Linked DNA regions of Homo sapiens: regions 1 and 3 are each linked to region 2. Evidence: promoter capture Hi-C in 16 types of primary human blood cells and fetal thymus (Javierre and others, 2016). All regions are on one chromosome and are shown on one strand. Each heading gives the region's core, a stretch centred on a gene start or on the middle of the fragment in contact. The rest is flanking DNA. Distances are from core to core; before and after follow the strand shown. Region 1 has its middle 2.3 kb from the start of VAMP4. Region 2 holds the start of COP1 (COP1 E3 ubiquitin ligase). Region 3 overlaps SUCO (SUN domain containing ossification factor).

Evidence for each region. The method cuts DNA at HindIII sites, captures the fragments that hold promoters and counts their contacts. A CHiCAGO score of 5 or more calls a contact.
Region 1: a contact is called between a fragment that was not itself captured here and the fragment with the promoter of COP1 in region 2, in 2 of 17 cell types (total CD4 T cells and naive B cells). The highest score is 7.7, in total CD4 T cells.
Region 3: a contact is called between a fragment that was not itself captured here and the fragment with the promoter of COP1 in region 2, in 1 of 17 cell types (total B cells). The highest score is 5.4, in total B cells.

The regions. Positions count from the first base shown.
Region 1 is chr1:171,742,864-171,745,934 of GRCh38, reverse strand. No RefSeq gene overlaps it. Among named protein-coding and RNA genes, the nearest start is that of VAMP4, 2.3 kb to the right of the region's middle. The HindIII fragment of the contact is 2,003 bases long and covers 597-2,599 here.
Region 2 is chr1:176,205,547-176,208,598 of GRCh38, reverse strand. It overlaps COP1 (COP1 E3 ubiquitin ligase), which reads left to right and starts at 1,313. Exons shown (of 20, transcript NM_022457.7): 1 at 1,313-2,027. The coding sequence starts at 1,621. It overlaps COP1-DT (COP1 divergent transcript), which reads right to left and starts at 934. Exons shown (of 5, transcript NR_185981.1): 1 at 728-934. RefSeq lists an enhancer at 706-775 and silencers at 1,276-1,485, 1,516-1,875. The HindIII fragment of the contact is 7,879 bases long and covers 1-2,455 here.
Region 3 is chr1:172,534,987-172,538,302 of GRCh38, reverse strand. The region is part of intron 1 of SUCO (SUN domain containing ossification factor); the gene reads right to left. Among named protein-coding and RNA genes, the nearest start is that of SUCO, 3.5 kb to the right of the region's middle. The HindIII fragment of the contact is 1,515 bases long and covers 579-2,093 here.

The DNA.
Region 1 (3,071 bases), core at 349-2,848, 4.5 Mb after region 2:
CCATGCCAGATTCACAGTCCTCCTGGTGTGTGTGTGTGTGTGTGTGTGTGTGTGTGTGTGATGCTCAAATGGAAGTAGAGTCTACACACTATTTTGCACCTTACTTTTCTCACCTTATAGCATCATAGAGGTATTCCATGTCAGCACATATAGATCTATCTAGTTCATTTTAATGGCTGCATACTATTCTATTGAATGGCTAGACTATGACTCATTTCAGCAATTTCCTATTGCTGAACATTTAGAGTTTTTTTTTTCACTCTGTTACAAAAATCCTGTAACAGATATTTTTATAGAATACTTTTATATACAACCTGTATACCCATGGGATAAATTTTAGAAGTAAAATTATTAGATCAAAAAGAACTTCATATAAAATTTTGATACATATAATTACCATGAAATTTTTAAAAATGCACCAATTTTTATACTCTTACTGTTTAAGAATGCTTGTTCCTCCCACGCTGCTCCCATACCACACATACACACACCCAATATTGTAGTATCAAATTTTTTTTATTTTTGCTATTGAGCTAACACAAAAGATCAAACTGTCAAATCAGGCTCAAATCAGAGATTTTACTCAGTATCAAGCTTTACTAATAGTTTCAAGGATACCAGTAATCCCCAGGTCCTTTCTTCTTGCTTTGGATGCATCCTGGCCCAGGACAGTAGATGTGGTTTCTAAATCAAGTGTACAGTCACCCCACTTACACAGAAGGAGCCAAATCAGTTACAAAACACTTCCATTTTATGCTACGTTACATAACTTCCGCGGTATTTTCCAGTTAATCATACCCCTGAAATCCGCATTGATTCTTTTTTGTTTTGTGAGAGGGAGTCTCATTCTGTTGACCAGGATGGAGGGCGGTGGCGCGATCTCTGCTCACTGCAACCTCCGCATCTCCAGTGCAAGCTATTCTTCTGCCTCAGCCTCCTGAGTAGCTGGTGTTACAAGTGTACACCACCACACTCAGCTAATTTTTGTAGTTTTGGTAGAGACGGGGTTTTGCCATGTTGGCCAGGCTGGTAACTCCTGACCTCAAGTGATCCACCTGCCTCAGCCTCCCAAAGTGCTGGAATTACCACATCGATTCTTAATGTGTTTACCATAAACAATCCCAGCCCTGGGACATCCTGTTAGAGGAATTCCGTAAATATGGACTCTCTTGCTAGCAAATGCCATTAGTTTGTTTGCCAGGAGGTCTGTAATTAGTATATACTTTATATTTTATAAAAATCACATGCTTTTTTGCTTGCTTTAACCTTGCTTTCCTGAGAGTATTTCCCTACGAAGGGAGAGACTGGATTGCAGATCTTCTGCTCAACTCCTTCTTTCTCAGTCACTGATAGATGAAAAATGGTATTTCCTTGTTCACTTTTACATTTTAAGTAATGTTGAACATTTAGCAACAAAATATTGAAAGCTAGAAGGGAGATGAATCAAGATGCAATTGCCTTAGCAGACTTGAAAAGTAGGAATCCCAAGCAGGCCATGAAGCAACCTGATACACACAGTGAAACCCTGTATAAGGCTCAGGAATTGGAAACACCACGTAAAGCTGAAGAGAGCATGATGTGAGCTATAAATACAGGCGGAATGGTATAAAGTCTGTTTAAGAATGAATCAGATGCTGAGATTCCCTTTGCTATCCCATCAAAAACCCAGAGATTTAGTCCTGAAAGACAGCAAAACGCTGATTCTCTAGCTAGGAGGACAGCAGGCCCTCTTAAGGATGAAGGTGTCATGTTGAAAAAGGGGAAAAGAAAATTAGAGGACTAACATCTGAATAACTGAAGCTCACTAAAAAGAAAATGGAGGAAATAAGTAACTCAAGTTGCTTGGAGTTCTGACTCTAAGCTCAGTGCTATTATAATCTTTTAGGCTTACTGGTATATTTGATTCATGTTAACTGTAAAATGACATTTTCTAAGTTTCACAAATATTGGGGTTAGTCAAAGGGACTTTGTTCAGGTGATTAAGGGTGGGGCTTGCATTACCCCTCTCCTAAGCGATCATTCCAAAATGACTGGCAGGACTAAAGAATTATGTTTAAAAAACAAAAAAACCCAAAGAATGGATTATCTGTAAAAGCTATGCAATGACGTGCCTGTTAGAGCTCACTGACCACACCTTAAGTTGTCTAAGAGATGAGGCTATAACTAGCTAAACTCTAATTGGCTAAGGCACCAAAGCCAGAAAATAGCCCATAACATGCAAATATACAGACATAAAATCAACTGTAAGTGCTGGGCACAGCTGCTCATGCCTGTAATCCCAGCTACTTGGGAGGCAGAGGCAGGAAGATCACTTTAGCTCAGGAGTTCAGAGCTGCTGTGCGCTATGATTGTGTCACTGCACTCCAGCCTGGGGGAAGAAGTGAGACTTCATCTCAAAAAAAAAAAAAAGATCAGCTGTAGAAGAAAAAATAATGTCAGGGTTACCTGTGGAGTCTGGGGGTAGACCCACTATCACACCTAGACAGGGATACAAACCATGAGAGGCTTCTCTTCTAAGTGGGCCGTTTCAGTCCAAGTTGCTGACTTGGACAGCAACTTGGACTGAATAAACACAGGCAACTGAGTTTAGCATTAAGCTTTCAGAACCTTCAACTGACAACTCAACGGCTGTTTCTAAATCTCAGAACATTTAAATCAGAATCTAGGTAGCACGTGGGCACCTACGTAGTTTTAAAAGCTTTCCAAGTGATTCAACTCCAAGTGAATCAGAGTGGAGCATCGTTGCCTTAGTCATGGCATCTTTCAAATTCGTTAGTACATTTTTACATAAAAATAAACATCAAACAAAAGAAGAACAACTTTTTGGTAAGAGGGTGTCTATTCTTTCCTTTCCTTTAGTGTCCGCAGATCTTTCCTCCTGCTGTTTTCTTGTCTACTCTTGTTCTTGAACACCCCCTCTTATTTTTATGTCTTTAGAAAGTGCCTGGCACAGTATTTCAGACAGTTAAAATACTGTATCAACAAAGGACCCATAGATACTGTATTAATTTTAAAAGATGTGTAGTGAATATGATTCAATGAGTAAAATAATCCAGCTGGGGCGTGGGAGG
Region 2 (3,052 bases), core at 64-2,563:
TTTACTAAGTCATGAGTATTTTCACACTTTATTCCCAAATAAATATATAAGAATCATAGAATGATAGAATTGAAAAGGATAAAATCACACAGTTGTTTCTAACTCCCACCCCTTAGAATGCGGCAAATGAAAAAAATTTTTTTTTTTGAGACAGGGTCTCTGTCTCACAGGCTGGAGTGTAGGGATCTCCGCTCCCTACAGCCTCAACCTCCCCAGCTCAAGCAATCCTCCCATGTCAGCCTCCCGAGTAGCTGGGACTACAGGCCTGCTGCCACCATGCCCAGCTAATTTTTTGTACTTTTTGTAGAGACGGGGTTTCGCTATCTTGCCCAGGCTGGTCTCTAACCTCAGGTTCAGCCTGATCCTCACCTCCAGGCTCAGGTGATCCGACCCCCTAGGCCTCCCAAGGTGCTGCGATGACAGGCATGAGCCACCGCGCCCGCCTATAATCAATTTTCAATATTCTAAAAAAGCCTACCAGAAATTGTATATTTTCTGGTGGTATTAAATGCTAGGTTTCCTTGTTTTGTGCTAGAATTATATCAGATCCACAATAAACCTAGGTTCCGACTGAGCTGGGTCTGATTGAGCAAAATCTGTTTTCCCATTATTGTTATGTTCAATTTGGCAAACAGCTTTTCAAAATATAGGAGTGAAGTCGTGGTCGAACTAATAAAATTGGTAACACTTGCTACAATGTTTGCAATTCGCAGAAAACTTCACTGACTTCATCTTAACTTATTCCTCACAAAGCTGTGGAATCACCATCAGTAGAGCAGGAGTCGTTGGCTCAATGCAGTGCTGTCTGCAACCGCTCGGAGCTTCTAGGTTCTTTCCGTGGGTCTCCAGCTTATGAGCACCTACATTCCGCGATTCGGAAGCACCTGCCTACCCCTCAGAAGAGAGAGACAGCTCCTTCTTCCCGTTCCGGAATGTGGTGCGTTCGCACGCATGCGTGACACGGCTACTCCGCGCTTGCGCCGATATTCTCCGCTTGGGGCGGATACCCTGGGTGACCCGTGAGCGTCCGCGCCCGGCGCGCGCCTGCGCAGTCGCTTTTCGAGAGTTTCCGCCCGCTACGTTCCCGTCTTTCAAACCACCCCACCACCTATACCATTCATTCCAGTCTCCTCAATTCTTTCACTGTATTAAGACGGCCTGCCCTCTGGCACGTTTTCTGGAACGAAAGCGGCTTGGGACAGACAGACTCCCTTCGCCAGGGAGCCCCGACCCCGAGGGCGCGCCCTGAGCGTCTGAGCGCAGCCCCGCTGCGTCCCCAGTTGTATCCCCCGCCACGCCCGCCTCTTCCGCCGCTCGCGCGCGCGCGCACGGCCGGCCACGGCGCGCCGGGGTTGGCTGCTACAGGGACCGCGGTGGCGGCGGCGGCCTCGACAGCGGTAGTGCCTTCTACTCCGCTTTTTTAGTTTCCTCCGCCCCCTCCCGTGGGACGCTGTTGTGTGGCTGCCTTAAAAAAAAACGCAACTTTATTGTTCCTCAGCCCCACCTCCGGCTCGGCGGGCGTCCTCAGGATGCACTGAGGCTGAGGGGAGGGGAGGCGGCGGAGGGTCGAGGTCGCGGTCCCTCTCCTCCGAGCGCCCGGCTGGAGGGGAGGGAGTCACGATGTCTGGTAGCCGCCAGGCCGGGTCGGGCTCCGCTGGGACAAGCCCCGGGTCCTCGGCGGCCTCCTCGGTGACTTCCGCCTCCTCGTCTTTATCCTCTTCCCCGTCGCCGCCTTCCGTGGCGGTTTCGGCGGCAGCGCTGGTGTCCGGCGGGGTGGCCCAGGCCGCCGGCTCGGGCGGCCTCGGGGGCCCGGTGCGGCCTGTGTTGGTGGCGCCCGCCGTATCGGGTAGCGGCGGCGGGGCGGTGTCCACGGGCCTGTCCCGGCACAGCTGCGCGGCCAGGCCCAGCGCCGGCGTAGGAGGCAGCAGCTCCAGCCTAGGCAGCGGCAGCAGGAAGCGACCTCTCCTCGCCCCCCTCTGCAACGGGCTCATCAACTCCTACGAGGACAAAAGCAACGACTTCGTATGGTGGGTTTGAAGAGCACTCCCTCCTTGTCCCTAAATTATGAGTTTCTGCCGCTTAGGCTTGGGGGCGGGGGGTCTGGTGTGGGGGTGGCTTGTTGGAGAGCTTGGGATACTGGTGCTGTGGTGGTGTCTGCAGAGGGAATCGAGCGTTTGCAGGCATTCGAGCTCCTGGTTGGTGGGGTGAAGGAATGTTGGAGTAGCGAGGCAGGGTGGGGATAATAAAGAGGTAGGTAAGTGTTGCTGAGGAGGAAGTGAAGGGAGTTTAACGAATGACGAGGGAAGAGGTGGAAGGTCAAATAAATGGTTTTGGATAACAAAGTTGGCAGAGAGGTTGAGTCTTAAAATTTTTGCCTCTCTGATGAATTGAACACTCAGTCAATCAGGAGTCCTTGTTGAGATGAATGAAATTTGCAAATGGAGAGGACTAAGCTTCCTCGGATGCAGAGGGGTGGAGTTGGTCAAAATTTATTTGAAGTATGGTAGATGATGCTGTAAACATAAGCATGGATGTCTTATAAAGACATGCTTTTTATAATAATGTAAGTACCTATCGTATGTATGTGTAAATATCTTCTTCCATTTCAAAGGATGGGCCACTTAGGAATCGGCTGTTGAGACGACTGTAGTCAAAGTCTGTTAACAGATTTTTCACTTCTCCACCAAGTGTCTTGAAAAGAGAGAACCACGTTTGTTAAATAACATCCCTGTGTCAGATGTAACTGTACTATACTGGATAACAGAGTATACTGGAACTTCTGACTTGAGAAATGCTAGGTATAGACATTTTGTCGTCATAGTTGGCATCTTGAATGATACAGAGTAACATTTAGTCATGACATTTGGGATAGAGAGGTTAGTCATATGAAGTGAAAGGTGGTGTTGATTGTCTTGCTTGAGAGTGTTTTGGAATTTTTATTGGATTTTAGATATTGGTAGGATTATGAGAAGTAATTGCTGTTAGCTAGCTGCTTAAGAAGTGGTAGTGTTTCGTACTTTCCTTTTTGAGGAAATTGTTGATCAAATATTAG
Region 3 (3,316 bases), core at 87-2,586, 3.7 Mb after region 2:
TGACATACTCAGAAAAATTACTACTAAGGACAAAAAGGCCAACATCTTGATTTAGATATCAACTCTCTTCTAGTGGGACCACGACTTAGGACCTCGTGCCTCCAAAGTACGTCCCCTACATTCCACTTTACCCTCCACAGCAATCTAATTAAAAGATCCATGTGACCTCATGCTCCTGTTCTCCAGTTTAAACCACTTCACTTACTCATCCTCTGTCAGGTGGTTAGAATTAGAATTCATCTGCATGATAATCAAATCCTTTCAAAACCTAGCTCTAGCCTCCCTTCCCATCTCTCCTCACATACACTCACGCTCTAGATAACTGGGTAAGTGTTCTCTCTGCCTACAACAAAATTCGCTCATTGTGAACTATCCATCCTGCAGACCATTTTATGGATGAGAGCTGAGGTTCACAGAAGTAACTTGTCCAAAGACATACAGTTAGTGACAGAACCACAAGTAGGATATGAATTCTTCCTTTGCTGTTCCTAAAAACCTTTGTAAGTACCTGTTATATTTGCCAAATGTATGAGACTTGTTTAAATGTCAAGCTCTTCCCGAAAGTCTAAATATAAGCTTCTCCAAGATGATCCTTTGGGGTGAAGGAAGAATAGATTTGTTTAGTTTTAAAAAATAAGTTTTACTAAGATTAATGTAAGGATTCATACAGAAACCCAGGGAAAGAGTGGAAGTCCCACAAACAATGGGTTTTACTTACAGCACACCATGATTCACTGTGGTTTATGTTTCCCCAGTTAGGTAGACTTAGGAATTATTCAGTTTTAACTGAATTGACCCTCACAACATCGGGAAGCAGCTTTTAAAAAAATTACTGCAAAGAATTTAATAATGCAAGCACAGCCAACAAGAAAATGACAGGGCTGACTCCTAAGTAGTTGAAGCTATTCCTCTTCTATACTATGACATAAAATAATCTAGTAGGTCAATCACATAGCTCTCACTAAAAATTATTATTTTAATGAGAACAAAAGGTACCGTTAACAGAAATTATTATTTTTTTCTCATTTTTCTTAAATATCTAACTTGCATTAATTACATACACTAATATACTATTACTATATTGGCACATGTACATAACTTATAGACAATTAAGGTGGATGCACAAGGTTTTACTAATTAAGGGACACACTCAGAATATCCACTAATTATGTTTTTTTCCTCTTTAGGGTGATGCAGCTTTCCCAGTTTGCCCAGGACTGAGGGAGTATGGTATAGGGTATAGGCTGAATAATGCGCCCCCCTCAAAGATGTCTGCATCCTAATCCCTAAATATGTTACCTTACATAGTAAAAGAGATTTTGCAGATGTGATTAAATTAAGGATTATGAGATAGGGAGATTATCCTGGAATGTCTGGCTGGACCCAATGTAATCACAATAGTCCTTATAAGAGGAAGAGGCAGGAGGACCAGTCATTAGTAGACATAAGGACTGAAAAAAGGGTTGGAGTGCTGATGTGAGGAAGGGGCCACAGAATACAGGTGGCCTCTAGAAAAAGATTCTCCCCTCAGAGCCTCCAAAAAGAACGAGCCCAGTTGACATCTTAACTTTATTTAGCCCTGTGAGACATATCTTGGACTTCTCATCCACAGAATTGTAAGGTAATAAATGTGTGTTGTTCAAGCCACTAAATTTGTGTCAATTTGCTACAGCAGGCATAAGAAACTAATGCAGGGAATTCCTAGGTTATGCGACTTCCAGTGTTAAAACCAAGACAAGCTGGTGACCCTCTATCTTGGATTTTCGGTGCTCATAAAAACATCTGGCACAGTAGGTATGAGAACAAAATGTGGTTGAATAATGTTATGATGAAATATTTACATAATACGCTGTTACTGTGTTACAAAGATCTGTCATTTGTATTATTTCATCCTCCTAACAACCCTGTGAAGTATGAATGGATCAATTTCCCCATTCTGAGGATATAACAACTAAGGTTCAAAGAAGTTACATAACAAGTCAAAGAACACATATCTAGTAAATGATGGAGCCACATATATAAAATACAGGCCTCTGACCTATAAAGTACTCAGGAGCCTGTGCTGCCTAGGTTCAAATTTAAGCTCCGAAGCTTAACAGCTGCTTAAACTTAGCCAAGTTAACCTCTCTACTTCCTCACATGTAAAATGCAAAAGGAAGTTAATAATAATACCTATCTTATAGGGTTCTTATAAAGATTAAAGGTGTTATTGTCAAGTAAACATCATGTGTCTGACACACAGCTGTCAGCAAATATTAGCTATCATTGCTCTGTGCTGCAGCTATAGTGCATTTATGCCTAGAATACTCTATACTACTTGATCAAAAATTATAAACTATGCAAAAGGAAAAAACAGCAACAAAAATTAATAATGACATAGATGAAATGGTTTTTCTGTAAACATAATCTAAGGTTAGTACTCAAGGCTACAAGACAAAAGCAGAGGGGAGACATAATCAAGATCTACAAAATTATGATAGTAAACATAACACAGTAATATTGGTAGCATGAGAGGGGAAACCTCAGAAACTAGAATACTGTAGAACAGACATACAGCACTCAATGTACAAAACAGAAACGGATCACAAAATTTTGAGACAATTTGTGAATAACAAAAGAGACAAAAGTGGCTACTAAAAGGCACTCATCAACTCTTGCAAACGTTTTATCTAACCCTAGGACTTGTTGGTAGCCATTTCTGTTAAAGGGAATGAGGTTGTTGGGAAAAGAAATACCACACCAGATTGCAGCAAAAGTTAGAAATCCATTAAGTGCCATTAATTCCAACTTGGCACAAAAGCAGAGGCTTCAAAGAAAAAACATACCCTTTGCCAATCAGCACCAGGTACCACTCCTCTTCCCCAATCTCATTCATCATCATCACCCTTTAAAAAACCCTTTAAGCCTTAATGTCCTATTTTAATGCCTTTTAATCGTTTTGCTAAAGAATAATTAAAATGTCTCTAAATTTGGCAGTCTAAACAAATCTCAAAATATACTAACCCAATAGTTTCTTAAGCTAAAGTTTCTTAAAATGTTCACACTCTTAAACTCTCCACATCCATTTTCCTCACTAGGAGTTAAAAAACTTGACAGAAGTTTATTACTACTACTTTCAATACCAGGCCAACCGATTTGTTCCCTAACAGGGAAATTCATTAGCTCTTCACTAGAGCTAATGATTGAAGGTGAGAAAACATACTGAGGGTTAGCTTAATCAAAAGATAGCCAGAAATTCCCAAAAGAAATAGAAGCAGAGTTAACTTAAATTTACAAATGATTGTAAGAATCACATTCTATTGCTTGATTTCGTTTA